Linked DNA regions of Homo sapiens: regions 2, 3 and 4 are each linked to region 1. Evidence: promoter capture Hi-C in human tissues and cell types (Jung and others, 2019). All regions are on one chromosome and are shown on one strand. Each heading gives the region's core, a stretch centred on a gene start or on the middle of the fragment in contact. The rest is flanking DNA. Distances are from core to core; before and after follow the strand shown. Region 1 holds the start of FRAS1 (Fraser extracellular matrix complex subunit 1). Region 2 overlaps FRAS1 (Fraser extracellular matrix complex subunit 1). Region 3 overlaps FRAS1 (Fraser extracellular matrix complex subunit 1). Region 4 overlaps FRAS1 (Fraser extracellular matrix complex subunit 1).

Evidence for each region. The method cuts DNA at HindIII sites, captures the fragments that hold promoters and counts their contacts. A contact is called where the count stands out against the background at its distance.
Region 2: a fragment that was not itself captured here is called in contact with the fragment with the promoter of FRAS1 in region 1 in 1 of the 25 tissues and cell types used here (dorsolateral prefrontal cortex).
Region 3: a fragment that was not itself captured here is called in contact with the fragment with the promoter of FRAS1 in region 1 in 1 of the 25 tissues and cell types used here (mesendoderm cells).
Region 4: a fragment that was not itself captured here is called in contact with the fragment with the promoter of FRAS1 in region 1 in 1 of the 25 tissues and cell types used here (mesendoderm cells).

The regions. Positions count from the first base shown.
Region 1 is chr4:78,054,834-78,059,679 of GRCh38, reverse strand. It overlaps FRAS1 (Fraser extracellular matrix complex subunit 1), which reads right to left and starts at 2,357. Exons shown (of 74, transcript NM_025074.7): 1 at 1,595-2,357. The coding sequence starts at 1,670. RefSeq lists an enhancer at 2,800-3,771. The HindIII fragment of the contact is 7,312 bases long and covers 1-4,846 here.
Region 2 is chr4:78,517,034-78,521,879 of GRCh38, reverse strand. FRAS1 (Fraser extracellular matrix complex subunit 1) reads right to left here. Exons shown (of 74, transcript NM_025074.7): 67 at 2,399-2,549; 68 at 250-357. Among named protein-coding and RNA genes, the nearest start is that of ANXA3, 32 kb to the left of the region's middle. The HindIII fragment of the contact is 4,460 bases long and covers 398-4,846 here.
Region 3 is chr4:78,385,694-78,390,539 of GRCh38, reverse strand. FRAS1 (Fraser extracellular matrix complex subunit 1) reads right to left here. Exons shown (of 74, transcript NM_025074.7): 29 at 2,839-3,165. Among named protein-coding and RNA genes, the nearest start is that of SNORD161, 99 kb to the right of the region's middle. The HindIII fragment of the contact is 4,635 bases long and covers 1-4,548 here.
Region 4 is chr4:78,367,810-78,372,655 of GRCh38, reverse strand. It overlaps FRAS1 (Fraser extracellular matrix complex subunit 1), which reads right to left. Exons shown (of 74, transcript NM_025074.7): 23 at 2,672-2,818. Among named protein-coding and RNA genes, the nearest start is that of SNORD161, 81 kb to the right of the region's middle. The HindIII fragment of the contact is 6,572 bases long and covers 1-4,846 here.

The sequences.
Region 1 (4,846 bases), core at 1,108-3,607:
GGAGTGATAGCACGTTTCCTGCGTTGCTGGGATAGGACTCTAAATTTTAAAAACTGCCACCAAGTGAAATTAATTTTTCTAAGTACCAAGTTCAGGTTTGGGTGGCCTGGGGTGACTCTCTCATCTGGTTTATTGTTATAATCAAGCCCTACAAGCTTTTTTTTTTTTTTTCCAAAGTACGCGCCCACACGCACATAAACAATAAAGTTATATTTCTACAGGACTTGCACTGTTGGGAGAAGGCTGCACAGGCCCCAGATGTGCCTTTCGCGGAGATTATACACACTTGACACACATCCCGGAAGAGTGCAGAAGGCAGCACCTGGACCCACGGGAAAGTCCCCCACCCTTGTGCGTGGATTCCCAAGGCCTTTCTCTTGGGAAGCCAGCAAAGAAAAGGCAGCTGCTCCAGTGACTGGAGGTCGACCCGAGGCAGAGCTTTGTCCTCCCCGGGCCTCCCGCAGCCCCCAGTCCTGCGCCAGAGCTCGACTCCCGGGAGCCGCCCCGCGCCCCTTCCTAGGCACCAGGGCGGAGAAGGCGGCCCGCCCTGCGCCCGCCGCCGCCGCCCAGCCGCGGCTCTGGTTTGCGGCTGGGCAGGTGAACTCTTCTTCCCGCAGCTGGATGAATAATGAATGGAGCCGGGAGGGGAAGCCGAGAGCCAGGCGCTGTGGATTAAGCCGTCTTCCTCCCAGCCCGCCGGCTCCCTTCCCCCTCCCTAAGCACTGGCGGGGCGACTTCCCTGGCTCCTCGGAGCAGGAGGGAGCTCACAGCGCCTCGCGTCCCCAGGCCCGGCATCCCATGACCCCAAACTCTTGATTTACTTATTGACTCATTTATTTGGCTGAGCCCGGATTGCATTTGATATCATGGCGACAACTAGTCTCACGGCTTCCTTTTCTCTCCTGCGGCTCCGGGGTTTTACAGGTAGCTTGGAGCCTCGGAGGAAAACCAGGAGGCGGAGGGTGAAGTAAAAGAATGAACCTAAACTCTTATTAACCACTTTTGTTCTGGGAAGCAGGCTGGTTCGTGCTTCTCCGTACTGGAGAGATTTCTTTCAGTGCAACTGAACTGCCCACGACCAGAACACGCTCCAACCAGTTAGTTATAAAATCCTAACTGGACTTTAGGGGGAGACTAACTGAGGTAAGGAGGGCGGGAGAGCGATGGGGCTTTAAGATGAAAGACTGTATGTTTCTTAGGAACAGAAGTATTTTTAAACAGGTAAGAGCAATTGTTCGCTCCTCACCTGTGCTCCATGCAGTTGCTTTCCCTTCGGGGAAAGGTAGGTGGTGGAAAGAAAAAGGATCAGTTTCAGAGATGTCACCTCCATCGGCCACCCACCCACCCAAAAGCACTTAGGGCAGAGAGGGAGGCCGTTTCGGGGGTGTAATCCGAATACAAAACAATCAGGAGTAGGAATCTTATCAGAAAAAGCCTATTCCAGTTTCACTTCCACCTCACCCTTCCCAGAAAAACTTCCACCTCACCGAAATACCATAAAACCTGCTGAGATTTTTAAACTGCACGATCACTCACACATACACACACACACGCACACGCACACACACACACACACGCGGCACCGCTCTCTCACCTTCGGAATGATGAGGCAATACTGCAAATTCCGCCAACGCTAGGGCCAGCCCGAGCCACACTTTGAGGACACCCATCGCCGCCTCGGCACCCACGATGGAGGAGCCCAGCCTTCAGCATCCAAGAAGCGGCTCCGCCAAAACGCTGGCTCCGGCGCTTGGAACCCGGGCGCACTGAAGGTGGGGGACCGCGGGCCTTTACCTCCGGGAAAAAGAGATGGACGGGCGGAGAGCGACACTCATCAGCCCGGAGGCGCCGGAGCGGGCTGGGGTTCAATTCACTCGCTGCTCAGGCAGAGAGCGCGCCGAGTTCCCCCGCAAGGCAGGACGCCAACGTGAGCTTTGGGAGAATAAGAGGAGGCAGAGCACAGTTCTCCGCGTCAAAATCTCGCCGGAAAGTTGCTGGTCACTGGCCGATGGGATCTTCCAGCATTTCCCTCGGGCTAGACCCTTCCGATCCCGGGTCCCCGACAGTGGAAATCCTGGCTCTGGTTTGTCCGAAGCAGCTTTTTAAAGTTCGCTTGGCACCATACGTCGGCGTTGCGTCGGCACCGCGGGTCGCCGGGAGCCCCGAAAGACCCACCCACACCCACTCCTTGGTCGAGCCACCCGGCTCGGCAGACCTCATCTGCCGGGGTCCGCTCGCTGGAAACTGTGCAGCGCTGAGGGCAGCTCCGGGGACTCGCCCGCCCTGCAGCCGCACCGCACCACACCGCCTCAGGCTGCGCTCCCTGAAGCAGACTGTTCGGAAGCTTCAGAGGAAAGACTGGGGGGCGCTGCTGCTACTTTCTCGTCCCCGCCCCTCGCCTGGGTGAGGAGGGCTGCGGGGACGCGGCTTGCTGCACACCAACACCCACCTCCGCGCTGAACACCCCGGAGGAGGTCTGCAGGGTAGAGGTGCAATGATTACGGGAGTGGAAGAAGAGCCATAATTTTAATTGCACGGAGGAAAAAGCTAGCGAGGCTGGAAAAGACCCCCAAACTCAAGGCCACTCTGGCGAGAGAGCCTGGAAACGCCCAAAATACGCCGGGTCTGGACCCCGTGTTTAAAGGACACACGTTCAGCCTTCCTCTAGTCTCCCTTGCCTCCTTCCTCTCTGCTTTGCTCGGTGTGAAAATGGACCCAGAGACTCGGAGCTTTGGCGAAATTCCAGAGAGTCACGTGGGGAAAGGGAGAAGCGAGGAGGGAGGTGAGGGGAGGCCGGGAGAGCAACCTGATCCCTTTATTCATTCTGCTGGAGTTCAGATTGGCTTTGTCTGGGGAGGAATCAAAAGTGCTCATACCGGGGACGGAGGGGGTGGAGATAGGTTGCACAGTTCTTGCTCAGGCACACCGGAAGGCAGATGAACCGTGTCCACATCCCTTGTTAGGGGAGGAACCGATTCGGCGGGCTGGGGGAGCGTGTGCCCACATCAAAGGCCCTGGGGCTACCTCCCACCCCCACAGCCCGCCACTCCTGCTGAACTAAGTGCGTCCGGGGGACCTGATTGATCCTTCTTCCTCGCTCTGGGACCCTCAGGCTGTTGCATCCTGGCTTTTACCAGCAGCCCGGGAAGATCTTGGTGTGTGTGTCCTAGGCGGAGCCTGAGAGCAAATGCACCTTTCCCTTTCCCTAGGAGACTCTGTCAGTGGAACACAACGCGGTCTGGGAGCTGTGGGTCCAGCTGCGCCCCCAGATGCCAATGGCTGGGAAAGTAACATCAGGACACGGCCGACTGGGGCGCGCACTTGAAGAGCAGAGGCCTTGATTCCCCGCCAGGACTGACTGACGGCAGCTATTTTTATAGGACCGAATAAAAATAGCTGGTCCACGTTTAATCGTTTTATAAGGGAACAGTTGCATCAGAGAGATGCTGACTGGGTTCTGATTGGCCCAGAGAAGAAACGTCTCGGGTCCCTCAATTGAGTCGGGATGGGCGAAACTGTTGGAGGGGAAGCAGTTGCATGAGCTGTGCTGGCGGGGGTCCCACTTGTTTCCAGTCTTCACGAACACCATGACGCGGGCCCACGTTCTAACGTGCACTGACGCCACTTGGAACAATTCACTTTTCCGAATAACTGGAATAACTTGAAACTGGCAGGTCCCTGTCAGTGTTACTATTCAGCCAGAACAAAGGAGAACCTCTGACAACCTGGCTCTGAATCTTAAGTATTTGGAGGACCCAGGGTTTGCACATTTCGCCCTCAGTCTCTCTGTTGGGCTGTGGTCATTCTAGGGACAGAGGTTGTATCATCTTTGTATAATTGAAGCACATAGTAGGTGCTCTTTAAACATTTGTTGAAATAATGGATTAAGTGCCTGAGAGCAGCGGCCATATCAAGGGGAGCTGCGGGCCTTAACCTCCTCCCAAAAAAAGACCCCTCCCTTTTTATTTAGAAAGTAGGGCCTGTGCGGTGGCTCACGCCTGTAATCCCAGCACTTTGGGAGGCCAAGGCAGGCAGATCACGACGTCAGGAGTTCGAGACCAGCCTGGCCAACATGGTGAAACCCCATTTCCACTAAAAATACAAAAATTAGCCACGTGTGGTGGCACATGCCTTTAATCCCAGGTACTCTGAAGGCTGAGGCACGAGAATCACTTGAACCCGGGAGGCAGAGGTTGCAGTGAGCAGAGATCTCACCACTGCACTCCAGCCTGGGTGACACAGCGAGACTCTGTCTCAAAAATAAAGGTCGGGCGGGGCGGGGGGGTGGAGGACATCTTCTCAATCCATGTAAAGTGATGTGCAAATTCAAACTCAGCTTCCAACACACTCTGACAACCAGACGGTCACCCTTAAACCCCCTCCTAATTTTGCAGCTGCTACTGAATGGGAGTAACTTAAACCGTTTGTTCTCTCAAAAATCAACAATTTGATTTTATTTTAAAAATCAAGCTGGGTGCAGTGGGGTGCACCTGTAGTCTCAGCTACTCCAGAGGCTGAGGCGGGAGGATCACTTGAGCTTGGAAGTTGGAGGCCATGGTCCACCCTGATTACGCCTATAAATAATCACTGCACTCCAAAAATCATACAATTATGGCACAGGTCTCAATAAGATATCTGTTATACTTGCTAATTGCAAATATGCTACTTTTCAAAAAGGAAAAGCAATAAATAAAGGGAGAATAGCACTACCAAGTTACCCTGAATTAATCATATGCTGTATTTATTGGATTTATATATAACATCCCCCCTTGACCACCAGTCCACCACAGGGGCACATGCTGGCCCACTCACATAGTCCTCCCTCTGCCCTAAGTAGTCAAGGGAG
Region 2 (4,846 bases), core at 1,378-3,877, 460 kb before region 1:
TAAGAGAATGTCCTTGTTCTTAGGAGATGTCAACTGAAGTATTTTGGGTAACTTGACACGAAGTCTGCAACTTGTTTCTGAACGGTGTGACAAAAAAAGATATGTATGGATGGATGTATGTGCACATGGATGTATAGCAAAATGTTAATCATTGTTGACTGTTTTTTACTGTTCTATTCTTTCAACTTTCTGTATGTGTGAAATGTTTCTTAATAAAAAGTTGGAAAAAAAAAACGGCATTGATATTACCTCTGAATTTGGCATGGGTCTTGAATTCAATGACAAGACGGCCATCCTCTCGAATGTAGATTCTTATTATCTGAAGCCTTGCAGAGAGCACGCTGTCTGTCTGGATTCCTGGGCAGGAAAGCAGAGAGAAAATGCTAGGGCATGGAAAATTCCTCCCTGACAGCAACCACATATAAGTTATCCCAAGGACACCTCCAAGTATAGCTGCACATTTATTTGAATGTAACAAGATAACATTTATATGTCTATAGAAACATATGCCAATTAAAATTGTATGACAGCTAATTTCACTTGGTTCTTTTTTTTTTTGTAATGGTTCCACTGTTCTTGACATAGACTTTTCAAACCTGTAAGTTCCACTTAACCCAGATGCAGGGTTCAGCAAAAAAATGAATCTTAAAACTTCTTACTATCAAACTTTACACCAGGGTATGGTTACAGCACATCTGCTTCTTATTATACTTTCTTTTCCTCGCCAAGATACCTTTCCGGACTTAACAGAGGTATAAACAAAGTCCTGGTGGCTACATTTAGTACTCAAACCAAAGGAGAATTAAAGCCAGCTTGTAGAAAGCCAACATGACACAAGAAAGCTGTGGCTTTAATAAAGGAAATTGTAGTCATGGTCCCCAGTGAGTTCAGAAAGAACAAAACCAAAGAGTAACGTAAGGATTAGAAACATGAACTTGAACAAAACAAAACAAAAACAAGAGCTCAAGGAATTATCTGACCCAGAGTGGGAAAGCTGCCTGAAGTTATTTTCCCATGAGAAATATAAAGCCAAAAATGATTTGAGCCTAAGACATTTCACAGAAGAAAGGACTACACTGCCAGCCCTTTGTATCTGTAGGTTCTACATCATGGATTCTGCATCTGTGGATTCACCCAACCTCAAATAGAAAATATAAGAATAAAAATGCATCTGCACTAAACATATAGATTTTTTTGTCATTATTTCCTAAACAATATAGCATAACAACTATTTATATAGCATATGCATTGTATTAGGTTTATAAATAATCTAGAGATGATTTAAAGCATAAGGGAGTATATGTATAGGTTATATGTAAATACTACACCATTTTATATGAGGGACTTGAGCATCCTCAGATCTTGGTGTCTGTGGGAGGTCCTGGAACCAAACACTAATAGATATGAATGATGACTGTAATTTCAATTAGTAGAGATGAAGCTTTCTCAAAAGAAAACTCTTGTATTTTTTTTAGTATGTTTGCCCCAGATAAAGCACCTCACCCCTGAAGAGGAAAACAGGGAGGATGGGAGCAGCAGAATTTAGGGGAAATGGGTTTGGGGAAATAGGTTAGGGGTAGTGTGTGAAGTACAGGACACTAAAAATGAGGAAAAAAAAAAAAACAAGAAAAACAAAAATAACCAAGAACGATTGGAGAGAACGGAGGAGAAAATTGGGGAGTTTTAAGGAGCATCTATGTGGAAGCAGTAGGAGGAGGTAGGTGTGGAAACTGAGTGGGGGTGAGGTGTGGAAACTGAGTGGGGGTGAGGTGTGGGCTCCCAGCTGAAGGGCTGCCTCCCACTTAGTTCTTGGAGGCTCCTCCCAAAGAGGACAGTAATGGGGATGAGCCTGAGGGAAAGGTCATTTTAAACATTCAGTATCACAGCCCTTGACTTCGGAAGGTTAAAATCCCTTCTTTGGAGGATGCAATTAAAGAGCAGACTCTTTGCCAAATGAATAAAGTGGGCTACTTGACATAAATATTTCAAGTGCTCTTGACACATTTTTCCATTTCCTTGCATCTGATTTGAAGATCCTTTTGCTCTGTAAAAACAAGAACCACACAATTTTTCACTAGGAGAAAATGAAAATCATTTGGGTTATATTCCAAAAGAACACACACCCATCTGAATCCCTAACGGGCAGTAGAGGACTCATTTGTCACTTGCCATCCTCTACGCTGGGACCTTAGCTATCTGGGCTGAGACCTTCCAGCATCAGGACAGAAGGACATCATTCTTTTCAGGAACCACAGATCTGCACTTTGAGGTGGCCCCACTTTGTCTTCGGGATAACAGGATGAGAAATGCAGCTACTGTTAAAAGTCACTACTCTTCTTTTAATCTTGCTTGAGTGAAGCCCTAACTAAAGGGATAGTTAAGGCGTCAGTGGGCATACCTGTTCTCCAGAGAACAGTGTCATAGAAGAAAGAAAACTCCATCTCGGTGTGGTGCTCCAAGGAGGCCCAGCCCCTGGGGGCTGTCACATAGATGTAGGACACATATAGAGGCACGTGCACTGTCAAGAAGGACTGGGCAGAGTCCCTCACCTGCCGAGGAAGCAGTATGCACACAGAGTTATTTCTCCCCTGGGATGAAAAGACATACTATCACCACATCTTGGTTCCATTTTCATTCACCCATGTAGTCACACACTTATTCAATAATTATTAAGCAAGTGCCCATGATTGCACTTACTTATTTAAAAAAATAAAGGAACTAATGGAATAGAAAGCAGCCGGGATGCTTCTTTCGACAGGGTCACGTGCAGAGGCTTCTCTAAGGAGGTGGCACTTGAACAAAAATACTTTTGAAGTGGGAGAATGAGCTCTGTTCAGTTGCTAGAAGATTTGGCTGAAATTTGAGAATATCACAATTATTCTCAAGGATCAACCCGGTGGATGTGGGATCTACCACTCAGTACAAACTCCCTGTATTGATCATTTGCCAGTGACCTGTGGGAGAGCCCAAGTCAACCATCATCAGGAAGATGCCCACATCCAGACGCCTGGGAGGAGCCTGTGCCTAACTCAGGATGTTTTAGTGAGTGCTCTCATCTCCTGCTCCAGGAACAAAGGGCCGGAGCATTGAAATCATATATAGGAAGCTCACCAATGGACAGCTCAGAGCTGCACGTACTTCAGTAATTTCCTGTCCCATGCTATGCTTTGGAAAGAGTTTTGAAAAGGCAGCATATCACATTTCCAAGAGAACATTTCTTCTAAGGAAGTTTGTGTTCCTGCTTTTAATTTGGCCCAATCATTTTCATTTTACTATGTAATGAACAAAACTGGATGGAAAGATAACAGAATGGTAGCAGAAGCTTTTGTGGTGAAGCTAGCTGTATATGTGTGTGTGAATGGGGAGTTAGTTCACACATTTTTAAAATATTTTTATACTTTTTTCCACAAATAAATAAATAAATAAATATATATATATATATATATATATATATATACACAACAAAAAAACTTAGCTTAAAACAATTTTATTTTATCATTGGCTAATTACTATAATATACTATGGGACTTATATTTTTCTTTTGTTTGAAAATACAGTATAAAGTGTTTCTATGGGTAATTAAGGAAAAAACCAAATGTTTTAATATTTTTCTAAAGTTTTTTTTTAATATTCAAAGTTGTCAGGGATTTAAAATTTGATGCCAACTTTCTCAAAAGACTCAACTAACTCCATACTCATTGAAAAATTCCATTTTGACATGCCTTACTTTGTTTGTTTGTTTGTTTGTTTGTTTGTTTTTCAAGAGATGGGGTCTCTCTCTGTAGCCCAGACTAGAATGCAGTGACTCCATCATAGCTCACTGCAGCTTCAACTTCCTGGCCTCCAGTGATCCTCCAGCCTCAGCCTCCCAAAGTACTGAGATTACAGGTATGAGCCACTGTTCCCAGCCCCTCTTTTTGTTCTTTTTAAAGAAAATTTCCAGATTGTATTTGGACCTTGTACCATGTTCTGTCCCTTATACACAGGTTTTGCTAAATACACCTGCTCCAATCACACTATCAGAACTTCAATAAAATCTCTAGCTGATTGGCAAAATTAATTTTTCCTCATTTGTTTTTGTTTATCCTCCTTTAGCCCTCATGATATTACTCACTAATCTTTAAAAAGAAAAAAAAACCCAACAAATATTTACTGCATGCCTATTCTACACCAGGCACACTGTGCAAGGCACCTTCTCATGTTGAGATTATTAGTACAATTTCAGAAGAGGTTCAGAGAGGTTATGTCTTGTCCAAGCCTGTTGATTGACAGCAAAAGGTACCAACTAGGCCTTAGTTCTAAGTTCTATATTCTTCCTATCATACGTCAGTAATTTCAATTATTTTCAAAGAAACAGACAACAACAAAATACTTCTGTGCATGTTTTTTCTGTGTTGGTTTAAAAGTGGGATTATATATAACAAATCCTTGTCTTTGAGTTTTTAAGCATATTCTGAATAAAAATATTCAAACAGTAATTACAGCAAAATCATAAAGAACAGAGAATACTAATTTTTGAAGGGCCAGGAAAGAAACAAAATCACTTAGTTTTGCATTTTCCAAAGTCAAAGTTTATACAACTGGAGAAATGGAAAACCGATGAACGCCTTAAAATTCTCTTCAGTAGATGGCAGTAGTGTGTACAAAATGAGAGGAAACCAGGCTGAGAGGCACCACAAAGAAAATGACAAATTTTAATCAAAGACACTTTCTCTAAATAATTACTGTAAATCCCTCTATAATTTCTCTCCTTCAGTGAGGATAAACCTGATTTGAAATGAAGAACAAACATCTAACTAGTTTTTAGCTCATTGAGATAACTGCTCAAAATTGGATAGAACCTGTT
Region 3 (4,846 bases), core at 982-3,481, 330 kb before region 1:
GATAAGAATATATATGACCAACACACTGAAAAACACTAGCTGGAATGAAAAGAGTCTCATGGTTAAATGTAGGAGGCAGACACACTTGAGATGAAATCATAGCTCCAGCACTAAGTATCTTTATGAAAATGAATGTTTTTGAACCTCTTTGTGCTTCAGTTTCCTCTTTTGGAAAATTATGGATAATAACTGTACAAACATCACAGAGTGATCATGAAGATCAAATGGAATAATTCCCATCAAGCTTTAGTGCCTAACATCAAAAACAAAACAAAAAACTTCCACCCATAATAGAATCTCCATTAGAAAAATTAAGGTCCCATAGCCTCTACTCTAACCTTCTTCCCCAAGACATTGTAAAGATCAGTAAAAGAGATATAAGGAAAAAATATTTTGAATTCCTAAGAGGAAAAATAGTACACATTTGTATAATGTTGCCAGTATTGCAGTCAGATGTATTATTAGTACATCCTGATGAATGCTGAGGCTCTGGTCATGGGTTTCATTATTCCAATCCATGGGCAGGTAATCACAGCAATACAGGAGAGAGGGATGAAAAGGGGCCCAGAGCACAACTTAAATTCACTTTTCAGGTATCACAGACAGACATAGAAAATACCTACATGACTCACAAGTCACAAGGATCCCAAAACTCTGTGTCTTGTGCTTTATTTATGAATTAAATTTCCATTTTTCTTGGTTTTGTTCTGGTAGTCAAAGCAGCTAAAACCCTAGAAATGTCCTTCCATCTTGGGCCATTCCACACAAAATGGTTGTGCAACACACTGAACTGAGCTCCAAACGTGGAGATGGAAGCCACAATAGGAAAGGCAGCTGCTAGGGTGGCACTGAAATCCTCTAACAACCTTTAGAAAGAAACCAAGAACGAAGAAACAAAAACTTCTCTCTGTCTAGACTTCATCTGTCCAGAACTAAACCTCATCTCCCAGGGCCATCGCAAGAGTGATAATTAGGATGAGTTGCAAGGTGGCTATCTGCCAACTCCATCTCATCATCAGCTTTCACTCACTCCCATCTCTCCTATGCCACCTTCACTGCTTTCAGCAGCTGAAAATAACGAGACAGGAAACTGAGAAATTACCTAGCAGATCATATTAGATTCAGCTGTTCACCTTCATGAGGCTCAATCGGATCAATCGCAAATTTTGAGTGATCACTGATGAGAAAGTGACAAGTGGTTTTAAACTGTCCTCAACAAACCAGTCTCTCTAGCTAGTCATTAATGACACCTCAGTAGGCAGTGATATTTGAAATAAAAGGTTGTTTAAGATTTATGTTTCCCAATCTACTACCATGAGAAAGAGCCATTCTTGATGCAACTGAGTAAAGGGCATCCAGTGAAACATCAACTAGTTTTGAAAATGTTTTTCGTGTCCCTTTGGTCTAGCAATGGCTCAGCCTAGTATTTCCTAAAGTGTGAGAGCCATCTCATTTGCAGTGTCCAAGAACATTTTCAGTAGCATATGGACAAAATGTTGTAGAATGGTTATGTATTATTTTTCATATTTTAGAAAAAAAGTATAATTCTACATTAAGCCCATGATTTCATAAGTATTATTTATTAAGATGAGGCTACAATAAAAAGTAAGTTGATACAAAGAAAAATATTAAGTAAATAATAGTACAGGTGCTTGTGGATATGGCGAAAACATAAAAAGGTGGCATGTCAATGACTCAGGCTGAGCAAAAATGCTATTTATTTATTTATTTAGAGATAGGGCCTTGCTCTGTCATCCACGCTGGAGTACAGTAGTGTGATCATGGCTCACTGCAACCTGGAACTTCTGGGTTAAAGTGATCCTCCCACCTCAGCCTTCTGAGTAGTGGAGACTATAGGTGCATGCCATTGCACCCAGCTAATTTAAAAAAAAAAAAAAAACTTTAGTAGAGACAAGATTTCTCCACGTTGCTCACGCTGGTCTCAAACTCCTGAGCTCAAGTGATCCCCTTACCTCAACCTCCCAAAGTGCTGAGATTACAGGCATGAGCCACTGCACCTGGCCCAATGCTCTTTATTGGCTCCTACTCCCTAGGGCAAAGATCCCTAGGATTACCAAAAGAGTTTGCTCATCCTACTTTAGTTGAGCTAACAGAATGGCTGAACTCAACGTTTTTGAGTCATTCAGATTATCTGACTATGAACTTCACATTTGATGAGCTGGGTTTTTTTTGTTTTTTTTTTTTTTTGGTTTTTGAGACGGAGTCTCTCTCTGTCACCCAGGCTGGAGTGCAGTGGCGCGATCTCGGCTCACTGCAAGCTCTGCCTCCTGGGTTCACGCCATTCTCCTGCCTCAGCCTCCCGAGTAGCTAGGACTACAGGCACCCGCCACCACGCCCAGCGAATTTTTTGTATTTTCAGTAGAGACGGGGTTTCACCGTGTTAGCCAGGATGGTCTTGATCTCCTGACCTCGTGATCCACCCACCTCAGCCTCCCAAAGTGCTGGGATTAGAGGCGTGAGCCACCACACCTGGCCTCATGAGCTGTTTTTGAGGGGCAGATAAAAACAGAAATATCTTGATTCTTATGGTTATGCTCAGGCAGGAGACAAAAGGATTAGTGGATAATAACACGTTCTTATGGCAGTACCTCAACAAAAAAGGTTCAAAAGTGTCCCAATTTGTAGAGAACATGGGGACAGGTCTTTCAGATCAAGGGTGCTCCTAACTAGATATATAGTGCCCTCTATATAATAGGTTATATTTGAATAAGTGAATGACTACCCATATCTTAACTTTGTGAGTATCATAAAATAATATCAACCGTAGAAGTTCACATCTAGGTGCAAAGAAACTGTAACTCTAGGAATGACACCTACCTGAGGCACGGTCTTCACTTGGAACAGTATATTATGGAAGGAGTGTCCATCATTGGCCTGCAAGACTGCAACATCGGATGTGCTGTCTGAACCATCATGAGCATAGTGGAGAAGGCCTCTAGAGAGTTCATCCAGCTGGAATTGATAGATAGGGGTTGCCGGGGACTGAAGTGTCTGAAGCAATTGGCCATGAAGTGGAGGATCGATTATTTCAATGACCACATCCTGTGGGTTGTCATCATCTCGGATGTCAAGCATCTGGGTGGTGATGGTTGCCCTCTCTCCTCTGCTAATGTGGAGAACTTCATTTCTCAGCACATAGGGGGCCTGTGGAGTTGAAGGGAAGAAGAGTCAGTTAAGAGGGAAAGAAAGGACAATCCAGTGGACTAGATACCTGATTGTTATTCCTATACTTTTTGAGAAACTCTAAGTGTTCTAGCAAAGCACCAAACTGTTCTATGGTGAACACATTCGTCAGAGGTGTGGTCACTCACAGGAACACAACAACTAAGGTTACTTCACACCTCTGGGTTCTAGAGGTTTATCAAGCTACTTCAAGACTTGAGAGACAACTGGTGAGAGCTGCTAGCTTCTAAATCTCTAATTTCTCTGCTATCCTGACTTAAATTTATCCCAAAAGAGACTAATAAGAGGTATGAAATTTTTGGACTTGCCTTTGGGAGGACACACTTCACTCCAGGCCATGTTGTGGTATACTGACTCTGAGGAAGCTACTTTTGCATCCTGAGCTCATGCTGTTTCTAGTCCCTCCCAGTAATTTTCTTCAGTTTTCTCATCCAAATCTTGACAGAGCCCCACCCCAACTCAGGTTATAAAGTGTGCCAAGATTATGGTCTAGGTGAGTAAGGCAACCACCTGGCTAATTCATGTGACAAGGCTAATATATTATAGTAAAATTTAATATCTTTTTCTTAGGATTGTCAGGTTACCTCCCACCAAGTTGAGTAAGCAAATAAAATGTTATTTCATAAAGATAAAAGCTAATGAACCACAACAGAAAAAAAACTCACCCAAAAAAATTGAGGCCAGAAGCCAAAGAAAATATTATTTCAGTTTTTAAAAAAATATCATTTGAAGTGGAACCATCTAGGACTTTTCTCAACACACTGCTTTCTTTAATCCAAATGGCTTTCTTTTAAAACTACCCAAGCACCCTCCTGGCCTCCTGGAAATTACAATCTCTATTAAAGGAATGTCTAATACATCACTATAATAGTTACATAGTGGGAAATTAGATGATAGTTAGTCTTTAGAATTCTCAAGTGAGAATTCTACAGCTGTGATTCTATACATGGGAAAGAGTGACCCCTCCTACTCTGAAAGAGGAAAAGTCAAAGATGATGTCAAAATTCACAAATGGAAAAGACGAAATTAACTTGCATGAGAAAATTTCAGAGAGGCTCAAGACCATATTGCAATGTCACAGAAATTTAAAGGAATGAAAATAAGTTAAAATGATTTTCTAAAATTCCATTTTAAAGACTTAAAATGATAAAAGTTTCTCATATAATAAATAAAATTAAATGTTCTCCTTATTTACTCACTTGATTGTGGAAAAACACACAAGCCACACTTGGGGAACCATGGGAACTCACCATGTCAGATTAGGAAGACTTGCCAATATCTACCTTTGATCTTTCACTGGAGTAACTTTATTAGCTCAAACAAAAAGAACGAAACAAAGTTTCTGAGTGTAAGGACTGAGAAACATCTAAACCAGTAAGTTGTAAGACTGGATGTAGCCCTCTGTCCTAAATTTACAGAGATCACCTGTTTCAGCTTTTTTTTTTTTTTTTTAGACAGAGTCTCACTCTGTTGCCCAGGCTGGAGTGCAGTGGCACGATCTCAGCTCACTGCAACCTCTGCCTCCCGGGTTCAAGCGAGTCTCCTGCCTCAGCCTCCCGAGTAGCTGGGATTACAGGTGTCCACCACCATGCCCGGCTAATTTTTGTATTTTCAGTAGAGACGCGGTTTCACCATGTTTGCC
Region 4 (4,846 bases), core at 802-3,301, 310 kb before region 1:
TTTATGAGGACTCTGTCTGCAGCTGCAAGGAGTAAAATAAGGACAACGTAAGAGATGTCAGATAAGTAGGCTCAAATGAGGTTTCCACTTGTAGTAGCCTGAATGCTTCTCTGAGGTTTAAGTGTTCCCTAATTATGTTAGACACGGACATGTACAAGGAGCACTCTATGCTTGTGCTGAGCCTGCTTGTTGGCAGGGCTGCTGAGAAACCAGATCACTCTGGTCTTAGTTCTTTATCCCTGTGCCATATCAAGTCTTCATGCAAAACCTGCCGCAGGGAGTGGCCAACTTGCCCCACAAACCTAACCCTGACTTCTTCCAAATACTCAATGCTCAATAGGTAAAGAGATGTCAGACACTCAACTAAGAATGCATCTGCTGCCACCAATAACACCAGCTGCATGGGTTTCTATCTCTCAAAACCAGGCATTGACCAAAGTGACAGAAAGAACCAATGATGTCAGAATTATATGGGGCATAAAGGTGCTGTCCAGAAAGAAAGAGGTTGCTAAAACAATAGAAGGTCTCATTTAGGCATTAGAACGGACTCAATTACATGTTAATTTGCTCCATAAGCACCTATGGGATAGTCACTGAACAGCAGGAGGGGGCAATATAAAGGTGGTAGGTGTAGAACTTGTCATCAAGGAGCTTATGTTCTAGAGGGGTCTAACCTTGAATGTGCATGCAAATAATCCAGGGGGGTTGTTAAAAAATATGGATTAGGCTCAGCATCAGATTTATCAAATCAGAGTCTCAGGGGTTGGGTTGGGGCACAGGAAAACATGTTGCTGCTGTACTTGTTATTGTGAATATTATAGTTGTTGCTGTTGCTGTTGTTTTTAATGGCCCAGGCAATTCTGACGCAGTCAGAAAACTCATGTTTGAAAGCCAGTGTTGTAGCTGGTAAGGGAAGTGCTACCTGCATGGAAGATGGGATGGGATAGCACAGTTAAGTGCATGGGTTTTGAAGAAAGGTAAGTCTGTATTCAAGTCATGGCTTTGCTACTTTTTCTCTATATTATCCTACAATCATGTTTTTATCTATATTATCCTGGTTTCTCACCTGTAAAACATGGGTGAGAATAGTACCCATTTCATAATGTTAAGAAGAATAAAATGTGAAGAATAAAATGAAATAATGAATTTAAATAATTTAGCACAGTGCCTGGCATATAGTAACAACTCAATAAATGTTTGCTGCTGAACTGTTTCTCTTAGAGAACCTATCTCCATTCAGGGCCACCCTCGATCTCACCTTCCATTCCTGCTAAGAAACTGGAGAAACCTCTCATTAGTTACCTTTTCTCTTCCTTGGTAGAATATTTCTAAGTCCCAAAGAAATCAGGTAAATGTGCAAGACAGTACACGTGCTTCCAAGATTTACAAAGTTAATCCTATTCCTTTATTTAGCTGAATCAGTCCTGAGGGAAAATGACTAAAACAGAGCCTTGAAAACTGCCAGCACAGTTATGAAATCATTTATAATGGAGTGGATTTGTGATAATCTTGTTTTTCACCACAAACTGACAGCTACTGGTTAGAAGGCAAAAAAAAAAAAAAACAAAAAAACAGAAAAAAAATTCTGTGGTCTCGAGCACAGCAGACCACCTAAGTTGACAACGAAGTAGAATTTCTTGGAATGGAAAGTGTGCAATTTTGCAGAGCCTTAAAGCATCCTAAGTTTACTTGACAGATGTTTGACCACCATATCCAAGCTCTAGCTTCTCTGCCAGAATCAGAGGGATAGAGAGAAATGTGGAAGGAGTCAGGAATGAGGAAATGGACAGGAGCAAGTAAAACCTGTTCTTTACCTTTGCTTTCCTGTTGCTGAGCACTACCATTCAAAGTGTGTAAGCCCCGAGAATTCCAACTACTGGAGAGCAAAGAAAAAGGCACTTGGCATTTGACATTATCTCCTTATAAATTTCCTTGAAGACAGGGACTACGTCTTCACTCATTTAAGTATGTTAAGCAGAGATGAACACATCAGACACGACTCCTGACCTTATCAAGCTTGGAGGTAGCAATCTCAAGTTGTAAATGCAAACACCTACAGCCCAGGAAAGTAATGTATCTTCAGAATAGGCCTTGTGTGATAGAAAGGGAATGGTGGGGACTGCTGAACTGAAGAGATCCTGTTCCATCCAGCAGGGACGACAGCTACACCGTTTCAACCTACGGTTGCACTGTCAGGATACATATCCAACATTACTAGAGCTTCACTGTCAGGATACATATCCAACATTACCAGAGCTTCTGGTTAAGAAAAAACCAACAACACTTGAAAATCTCAATTTTTGTATGTGAAATCTTCTGATTTTTAAAAGGCAAATAATTAAAGATTTTAAAGCATTGAAACATTAAGTAGACAAAGAAAACATGTCTATGGGCCATATATAACCTGAGGATTTACAATTTGCCACCTCTGGTCTTGTTATCAAGACGTGGCACAACATCTGACACAAATAGGTGCTCAAAAATATATGCTTAATAAGTAAATAAAGGAGTGAATTAATGAATATATACATACACACACAATTGTTGCTATCATCAGAGACAGTCAAAATATATGATGACTGGTGTTTTCCCAATATGGAAAACTAGACATCAGTAGTAAAGTGGTATCACTGTGTAAAAGAATCTTTACACAATTCAGGAAGAGCTTTACCTTTGCACGTGTTGGTGGAGAAGTCAAGATAGTACTGTGGGGCGCAGCTCTCGTATTGACATTCCCCAAAGAGCAGAACCTTGTTTGGATCTCGGCAGGAGGTACAGCTGGCCTGTGAATCACAGCTTCCACAGTGTGTGTTGCATGCTGAGCAGACAGGAAAAGAAAATGACCAGATGATTACAATTGCAAATACTGAAGCACTGATCAAACCTAGACAGATGTTGCATAGGAACAAAGCCTTGTTCCAACCTGCTCTACATTTCATTATGGCTCATAGCCCTCCCCTGTGATCAACAAAAACAGAAAATATTAGTTTCCGAAATAGAAAAGGGTAATCTTATTTTACAAAGAATATAAAGTGCAAACCCAATAATGGAAATCCCATATCCAAATTGCTCTGTGATTCAGCAACAGAATTTATGCTTACTCTAAGATCCCTGGAATTATAGTTCAGAACTTAAACCTTACTTCTTCAGGAATCAAGCCCCCTTAAGTTCATAATGTAGATTCAGGTTTTTGTGTGATGGCAACATTAAAATTAGGCACCAACTTTATTGGGGAGCTTGGGAAATCCCATACTTTAAGATACAAAGGACTTGAAGGTGAACTGGTTTATTGATTTGCCTAGTTACAACTCTTAGAACCCAGCCACATAACTCTGACATTCAGGGATGATCCCCCAATCTGGTCATGCTTCCATCTTCCCTTATTTAACAACTGGCATTTCTCCATCTACACAGTTGTTCATGCCAGAAACCTCCAAGTCTATCTTGACACCTCTCTTTCCCTGACTCCTAATCCAGTTACTCACTGGATCCTATTTATTCAAACTCTCCGATATAACTCTCAGAACTTTTTGCTTTTTTCCATATCCACAAATGCCAATATTTCTAAGCCATCATCATCCCCTGCTGAACTACTATCACAGCCTCCTAATTGGTTTCCCCATCTCCGCTCTGACCCCCTTGCAATCCATTTTCCATGCATCCACCAGAGTGGGTTTTAAAATTCATACAGCTCAGGTTTCAGAGTACACTTTCGCCTTCAAACTCAATGTCATTTTTCAATCCTGGAAAATTTCCAGCCATCATTTCTGCAAATATTGCTCCCCTACCATTCCCTCCATTCTCTCCACCTGGAAATCCTATTATAACATGCATATTTGAATCCTCTTAATATAATCTCCGAGTCTTTAACTCTTAACTCATTCTTCAGTCTCTTCTTCTGGGACCTTTGTTAACTTTCTATTCTAAAACAGGCCTTGCATTATAGCATGCTCTACATGTTTTTCATGCCATGTATAGCAATTTCCATTTGAGTGATTATTTGATTAACATTTGTATCTTTTAGGCTGCAAACTTCATGAAAGCAAATAACAGGTCTGTTTTGTTCCTTGTAATGTTAGTCAGCACCTAGCTGGTTATCTGTCATATTGTAGGTGTTCAATGAACACTTGCTACATAAAAGAAATAAAGCCAGATATTGCATAAGGTATATACAAGCACCAGCATTTCTGTCTCATTCTGAAATCTTCTCTAAGTACGTGTCAGAGGAAAAGTACAGAGAGAAACCCAGTGAGTTTTAGATCTATATGATATCAAAGTATATGGCACAGTGCAGGAAAATTACCTCCCTGAAAAAAAAAAAGAATGCTATTGTTTCACCTACAAAGAAAGACATTGTTATAAAACATTCATTAGAATATGCATATTGATAATTTAAGGTCCTGGGAAAATTCTAGACTGGATTTTCAGTTCTAATTATTTTCAATAATTAGAAAAGAATATTTTAACTGTTGTAAGCTTAGATGAGACCAAATTTTTATCCCTTTTTTTTTGCTAGAATTTTTATGCATGGTGTATCTTAATTTTGGCAAAGTGTTTGATAGAGATTCCAAAAATAAACTTGTGAATACAAAAATGAAGTGAGACCTACTAGTTGTAAGTGGATTTGAAGGTGGTTGAAAAGCATACTCAAAATATGATCAGCAAATCTTTATAATTGATAAAAATAGGTCCACAGCAGAGTATCACATTAATTAGGCCTTAATTTCTTACTTGATCAATATTTTTATCCATGACTTTAATAGAAACAAAGAAACCATGTCAATAATATTTAAATATGCCACATGCACCTATATAGAAAACATACATAGTTAAGTTTCACCAGCTG